Regions from separate parts of the Homo sapiens genome. Here region 2 is linked to region 1. Evidence: promoter capture Hi-C in 16 types of primary human blood cells and fetal thymus (Javierre and others, 2016). All regions are on one chromosome and are shown on one strand. Each heading gives the region's core, a stretch centred on a gene start or on the middle of the fragment in contact. The rest is flanking DNA. Distances are from core to core; before and after follow the strand shown.

Evidence for each region. Contacts are between HindIII fragments. The CHiCAGO score rates a contact against its expected background, and 5 or more counts as called.
Region 2: a contact is called between a fragment that was not itself captured here and the fragment with the promoter of JADE2 in region 1, in 1 of 17 cell types (naive CD8 T cells). The highest score is 6.3, in naive CD8 T cells.

Annotation. Positions count from the first base shown.
Region 1 is chr5:134,523,130-134,526,954 of GRCh38, reverse strand. It overlaps JADE2 (jade family PHD finger 2), which reads right to left and starts at 1,285. Exons shown (of 12, transcript NM_001388185.1): 1 at 944-1,285. LOC124901070 (a long non-coding RNA gene) reads left to right here and starts at 1,353. Exons shown (of 3, transcript XR_007058942.1): 1 at 1,353-1,489; 2 at 1,872-2,049; 3 at 2,911-3,825. RefSeq lists silencers at 1-815, 826-1,085, 1,116-1,195, 1,326-1,545, 1,566-1,615 and 1 more. The HindIII fragment of the contact is 6,085 bases long and covers 1-3,737 here.
Region 2 is chr5:134,263,581-134,267,384 of GRCh38, reverse strand. No RefSeq gene overlaps it. Among named protein-coding and RNA genes, the nearest start is that of PPP2CA-DT, 39 kb to the right of the region's middle. The HindIII fragment of the contact is 1,089 bases long and covers 1,261-2,349 here.

The sequences.
Region 1 (3,825 bases), core at 36-2,535:
GGGAGAAGGTAAACAAGGGCCACGCCCCCTGCCGTCGCCCCGCGGGCGCGCACCCGCCGCTCCGGCCGCCGCCGGTACATTTCCACTCTCCCAGCGCCTCTCCCCAGCTGGACTACCGCGCGGCCCCGGAGGTGGAGGCTGCCCCCGACCCCAGTCCTCACCCCTGGCGCCGAGGCTCCGCACCCTCCACACTCACCTGGAAAGGGTGTCCCCCGCCCCTCCAAAAAAACTGTCTAATTTGTGCAGAGCCTCCAACCCCAGGAGCCGAGCATGCTGCCCCCGCGTGCAGCGCCCGCGTGCACCGGGCCGGGAGAGGGGGCGACAGGGCGGAGGCGGTGGCCCCCGGAAGGTGTCTGGGACCGGACCGGCTGCACGTGAGCCCAGCGCGAGGTCATGTGCACCGGCTCAGCCCGGTTCGGCGCCCGGACGTGCTGCGTATCAACAAAATGAAACTCGGGGAGACAGGAGGGCAGATAGCTCCAGGTTCTCGGAGCCCCCGCCCGGGCCGCTCGACCTCCCCACCGTACCCATCTCCCGCCGCAGCCCCTACGCCCGGCCGGAGCCCGCGGGGAAGTTGCAGCCCTGGCGCGCCCCCGCCCGCCCGCGCCCCCTCGCCGGCCCGGGGGCGCTTTGCCGCAGTCATTAATAAAGAAGGTCGCCAAGCTCACCCTTCCAAAAGTTGTTGTTGCATGCGCCCCTCTCAGCCTCCCCGCACTGTACTCTTTAAAACACGACTGACCAACATGCGCAATCTCTCTCCCCTGTGCTGTGCATCCCCCCCCTCTCCGCGCTGGCTTCCTAGAACAGGCAGCCAGCAGGAGAGAGAGGGAGCGAGCGAGCAAGAGAGAGCGAGGGAGCGAAGAGCGCTGGCAGATCTGTTGCAAAAACGCCAAATAACGTCGTGGAGATGCGCAGGGCCCATCCGCCGGGGGCTGGATCTTACCTTGCTCCGCGGTGCCCCCCTGACGGGCGCTGCCCTCGGCTACGCGCCGCTGCAGGGACCGGCGCGGGAAGGATGCTCCCGAAGCCGGGAGCTCCTGGGGCCGGCGCGGGAGGGCGGGGGGCGCGCATCCATCCGGGGTCGCGGCGAGGGAGGCGGCCGGGCCCGCGGCGTCCCAGGCCCCACGCCCCCCGCCGGGGACGGTCGGCCCGCAGGACCTAAGCCGGTGCCGCTAGGAGTGGGCGCAAAGTAACTCCATGGACGCTACTCACCCCCCCCAAAAAATAGCCTCCAACTGCGATGGCCGCGGTCGGCACCATTCACCAACCCCCTGTGTATGTTTCTGTTTCTTTTTAAACCAAGACTTCCTTGTGATCTCTTTAGAAAAAAAAAATGTGTTGGGGTGGGGGTGGGGTGGGGGCGGGCAGGAGGAGCGAGGGAGGGGGAGTAGCCACTTTTTTCTTATTCACTCGGATCTCCGCTCCCGACACCCCCGTCGCCGCCCCCCCAACCCCCCGCCCAGTTGTTTGGCTCCGGCGGGGAGTCCAGGTAGCGTTGCGGGCCCCGTGGGGGAAGGGTGCCCTCCCTCGCAGCCCCACCACCACGCCTGCTGGCACCCTGGGCCCGGACTCCCCATGGACTCTGGGGCGCCCCTAGCCCGCCCTGTCCCCAGGGCCGGGCCCGAGCGGCGGCTGCGCCCGTGCAAGTCCCATCAGGTCTGCTCACACTTCACACACTCACACACATACCCCGCCCCTCCACTCTTTCACTCACACTTTCTGCTCACACCCCGCCCCCTACGCGCCCCAGACCCGGGCGGCGCCCCCCGCAACCTTAAAAAAAAAAAAAAGCGAGCTTATACTTAAAAAAATCTTTTGGCGCCATATTAATGACGTACTTAAAATTTGCCATTTCTCCCTGCGTCAAAAAGACGTTTCTTTGCAAATAACAGCCTGGAGGCGACACTCGCGGAGGGAACGAGGTTTGCACTGAGCACCCCGCCCCCCGGGGCTCCAGCGCTGGAAGACCCTCGCCCTAGGCCCTGCTTCTGAATCGCTGGTTTTAAAATGCGAATCGAATAAATTGCGTGGCGTTTTGCAGCACCAGAAGTGAGCAGAAAGTGCTGGCAGGAGGGGAGTGGAGGGGCGAACGCGAGTCTTGGGGAGGGGGCGCGGCCCTCCTCCCCGCACCCACTCCAAATGGAAAACTAACATTCCGGGCGGGGGAACTTGAAATTGTAGGCGACCTCAAGAAAAGAGGGGCGGTCCGTAGAGAGGGTCCCCATTGGGCTCGTCGCCCCCTCCCCCCTCCCGGGTGCCTCCTGGCGCCTAGCGCTGCCCCGCATTTCCGGGGGGTGGAGAAGGCAGTGATGAGCGGGTGGGTGGGTGGTTGCACATCCTGGCCCCAGCAGGATTTTGCCCCGGGGCGACCCCTTCCTCCTTGCTCTTCCTTCCCATTACCCCGAAAGGGTTAAAAACCGAGGGGTAACTTCCAAAGGCTGGCACATGGCGAGGAAGCGGGGCGCCCCTCTCCCCACCCTTCGCCTCCTCGCCCCTCCTCCTCCGGCTCCACTTCCCGACTTGACCTTGTGGTGCACAAACAGTACGCTCGGATCCTCGCAGTTTCTGGAAGAAGAGCCTGCGCTCGCCAGGCGGGCGGGCTGTCGGGCTGCTAGCCGGCGGTGGCGGGGCCTTGGGTCTGTTCCCGGAGCCGCGGGCCACACCCACCCAACCCGCTGCGCCCGCCGAGCTCACCTTCTCTCGAGGAAGGAGAAGGACTGGCCTCCTGGTTGGGGAGGAATCGGGGGTCAAGCTCCAACCTCCTCGGAATGCCTCTAGCTGGGGAGGGGGTGGGTCTGGCCTCGGGAGGAGGTTGTGGGGAGCCTGGCCCAACATCCCCAAAGCATCGTGGCCAACTTTTTCTTCCCCCTCATGGTCGGCTGCCCCTCAGATTATCCAATAATTTTTCAGCTCACCTTTGGCTTTGAAGGCACGTGGGTGAGTTGTGAATGGACACCGGAGTCGCCTTCCCTCTCCAAGACTGAAGATTGTTTATTCTTCCTTTCCCCTCCACCCCCTTCCATGGGAAGATAAATATTCAATTTACATAAGATGACATTTATGTGACAATTAAGAAGATTCCCCGATGGAATGTTGTGAACACATTTGCTTATAGGAGAAATAAATCTAATAATAAACAAACTCATAATAACAGCACAAATCCTCCGACAGGGCGGATTGTCTACCCAACAAAGAGGGAGATGATGAATGCTGAAATAAGCAGTTTTTGCAACAAGAAAGAAATATGAGCTCAAAGGGAGTCACTGCAACATTTCTTCTTCCTTGGCCTTCATTCACAAAGTCTGAGGAGAATTGTCTGGCAAGAGGATGGTCTGGGTATTACCTTCCAGTTAGACCTGGCTGTGGCTCTCAGTGGTCAATTGGTGGTATTTTTCTCTAGCCAAGCTCAGAGTCTGGAAACAGGTGCTGCAGACTTGGAGTGTGTAACAAAATAGTTAAATACTTAGGTTCTAATCCTGGCTTTGCATTTCAGAAGCTGTGTGATGTGGGCAAGTGAATTCATCTCCCTGGATCGCTTTTTCCTTTTGGGTAGAATGGGGTGGTTGGAGGGTTCTTGAGGCCATGTGTGCACATACACATATATGTATGTACGTACATATACAGGTGGTATGTGTAAAGCAGCAACTGGCACAGGGTGCATAGTGCTCATTAGCACCTTGCCTGGTACCTAAGTGGGTTTTTTTTATTTTGGAAGGGTGAAATTGTTCTCTGAAGCTTGATGGTCAAGGTCCAGATGTCCATTCCGGGGTGGGAGTGAGGGTACCAGTTTACAGTGGCACAGTCTAAAGAGATGACCTCCAGAGA
Region 2 (3,804 bases), core at 556-3,055, 260 kb after region 1:
AAAGTATTTAAATGCATAAATTTACTTCTAAGCACAGCTTTAGCTGTATCACATGTTTTTGTATGTAGTATTATTTAGTGTTATTTAGTAAGCTTTTCTTCCAGTTTCCAATATGACATCTACTTTATTCCATGAGTTATTTAGAAATGTAATTCTCAGTTTCCAAGCCCGTGGGGAATTTTGAAATTAATATTTAGCTTAATTAGAGTGTGGTCAGAGAATCCCTCTGTATTATTTCATTCCTTTGAAATTTATTGATTTGTTTTATGTGCCAACATATAGTAAATTTTTGAACTGAAAAATAATTCTGTAATTATTGGGTGCAATGTTCTATAGGTGTCAGTTCAAGAGTGTTAATTGTGTTGTTTAAATCTTTATACCATATCTGATTCTTTGGCATGTGTCCTGTTTATTTGTTATTGAGGGTTATGTGTTAAAATTCTTCAAGCATCATTGTGGATTTGTCTACTTCTTCATTTAATTCTATCAGTTTTTAATATACATTTAAGGCTATGTTATTAGGTGCATTCAGTTTAGGTTTGTTGCATTTTTCTGGTGAATCGTACCTTTTTTTCATTATGAAATATGTCTCATTTCTAGTAATGCTTCTCACATTACAGTCTACTTTATGTGTTATTCATATAGCTACCTGTTTTGTTTAGAGTTTGAATAGTAACTATTTTTGTTTTCTTTTACTTTGAATATTCCTACATATTTATATTTCATATAAATGGTTATTTTATAAGCAATATATGGTTAGGTTTTAAATTTTCTATCCAGTATGACCATCTATTTCTTTTTTTGGAGCATTTTATTTGGAACCTTTTTTATTTAATATAGTTACTTATATGTTTGGTTTTATATCTACCACCTCGCTATTTACTTTCTATTTGTTCCATGTATTCTGTTTTCCTTTCTTTCTCTGTTACTGCTTTTTTAAAAAAATTATTGAGTATTTTTATTATTCAATATTTCCCTTTATCAGTGTGTTATGAGATATATATATTTGACAATTATAAGCAGATTTTTGTCACATTCATCTGTGACTTACCAGAGTTTAATAAAATTAGTATTTTATTCCTTCTAGACAATGAAAATACCTTAGAATACTTCAACTCTATTTGCTTCTCTCCCTACTTATGTGCTAATGATGTCATTTTTAAATTTTACATATATTAATCCTACAATACATTATTATTGTTTTAGACAGTTAACATTTACTCTTTTGTTACTATTTATTCCTTCCTGCATTTCCAAGCTTACACTGGGGTCATTTTTCTCTGTCTAAAAAATACTCTTTAGTATTTCTTTTAATGCAGACTATATGATGACAAATCCAGTCATTTGTATTTTCCCGTACCTGTCTTTATTTTACCTTCATTTTAAAGAATTTTTAAATTGATCTTAAGTGTTCAGTTGAATGAGTCGTGACAATTGTATTCACCCACGTAACACCACATAAATAAGGTATAGAACACTTCCATTTCCCCAGTGCTGGTTGCCAGTCAATTTTCTGTTTACCCACAATGCAACCATTTTCTGATTTCTGACATCATAGATTAGTTTTTCTTGTTCTTGGACTTCATGTACCTTGAATCCTATAAATGAAATATAATACATATAGTTTTGTGTAATGTTTTCAAAATCCATCCATGGTTTGCAGTTAACACTTACTTGTTAATTTCCTCTTTAAAATTTTTTTTGTTAAATTTTTTTGAGACAGGGTCTTGCTGCATCACCCAGACTGGAGTGCAGTGGCATGAACACAGCTTGCTGCAGCCTCCACCTCCTGGGCTCAAGCAATCCTCCCACCTCAGCCTGTCAAGTAGCTGGGACCATAAGTGCATCCCATCATGCCTGACCAACTTTTTTATTTTTTGTAGAGATGGGGTCTCGCCATGTTACCCATGCTGTTCTCAAACTCCTGGGCTCAAGTGATCATCCTGCCTCAGTTTACAAAAGTGCTGAGATTACTGCCATTCTTATAGCTATGTCATGTTCTAGTGCATGACTATAATACAATTTCTTTATCCAATCTCTAGTTGATGCACATTTGAGTTGTTTCAATTATTATGATTAAGGCTGCCATGAACTTCCTTGCACAAGTATTTTTGTGGATCTATGCCTTCGTTATCCTTGGAAAAATACTTAGAAGTAGAATTGTGTGGTCATAGGGAAAATGTATGTTTAAATTTAGGGGAAATTACCAAACAGTTCTCTAAGATGAGATAATTGTTTACACTCTCACCAGCAAAGACTGAGAGTTCCAGTTGCTCCATAGCTTTATAAACATCTGATATTATCACTTTATCCAATCTAGTGGGTGTATAATGGTACCCCATTGAAGCTTTTTTTAAATCGAAGTTTTAATTTGCATTTTCCTAATGAATAATGATGTTGAGCACCCTTTCACATGCTTATTGGCCATTCTTATGTCTTTTTTGTTTGTTCAAATACTTTGTACATTTTAAATTGGATTTTTGTTGTTGTTGTTAATTGTTAGTGGTTCCTGATACATTCAGGACACAAGTTTTTGGTCACACATACGCACTGCAAATATTATCTCACAATTCGTGGTATGTCTGTCTATTCATTTTCTTAACAATATTTTTTCTTTTAAAGGCATAAACTTATATAAAATAAAATGCAAGGGCCCTAACTATTTAACTTTATGAATTGTGGCAATTAAATATACCCATGTAACCACCACCCAAAGCAAGATATAAAATAATTACATCTCCCCTTATCCTCCTTTCAGCCAATGCCTCCCATCAAAGGAAACCAGTATCTGACATCTATCACTAAAAGTTAGGGTTTTTTTGTTGTTGTTTGTTTGTTTTGTTTTGTTTGTTTTTTGAGACAGAGTTTCGCTCTTGTTGCCCAGGCTAGAGTGCAATGGCACAATCTTGGCTCACTGCAACCTCTGCCTCCTGGGTTCAAGCAATTCTCTTGCCTCAGCCTCCCCAGTAGCTGGGATTGTAGGCATGTGCCACCACACCTGGCTAATTTTGTATTTTTAGTAGAGATGGGGTTTCTTCATGTTGGTCAGGCTGGTCTCAAACTTCTGACCTCAGGTGATCTGCTCACCTCGGCTTCCCAAAGTGCTGGGATTACAGGTGTGAGCCACCACACCTGGCCCCATTTACATATTTACTATATGTTTCCAGTTAGATAAAGTTCAAATACAAATAAAACTAACCTCTGGACTCTTTCAAACTCCTGACCTCGGGTAATCTGCCGGCCTCGGCCTTCCAAAGTGCTGGGATTACAGGCATGAGCCACTGTGCCCGGCCAAAGATATTCTTCTAAAAGTCTTAAAGTTTTCCATTTACATTTAAGTCCATAATACATATAAAATTATTTGTTGTGCTTGGTATGAGGCAAGAATTCAGTTCCTCTTTTTCTGTGTGGCTTACCAATTGTCCCAGTCTCATTTATTTAAGAGTCTATCCTTTCCCCACTTATTGTCAATACCATTTATTGACAATACCATCATATATTAAGTTTCTGTACATGTGTGGGTTTTTTATGCTCTTTATTCAGTTCTACTGGTCTTTTACCCTTACACCAATTCAATGGTGTCTTAATTACATCTTTAACGTGAATCTTGATGTCTGGTTAGACACATGCTTCTACTTTGTAATTACAACTTTAACATGAATCCTGACGTCTGGTTAGACACATGCTTCTACTTTGTTCTTCCTTTTTTTTTTTTTTTTTTGAGACAGAGTGTTGTTCTGTCACCCAGGCTGGAGTGCAGTGGCACAATCGCAGCTCACTGCAACATCCACCTCACAGGTTCAA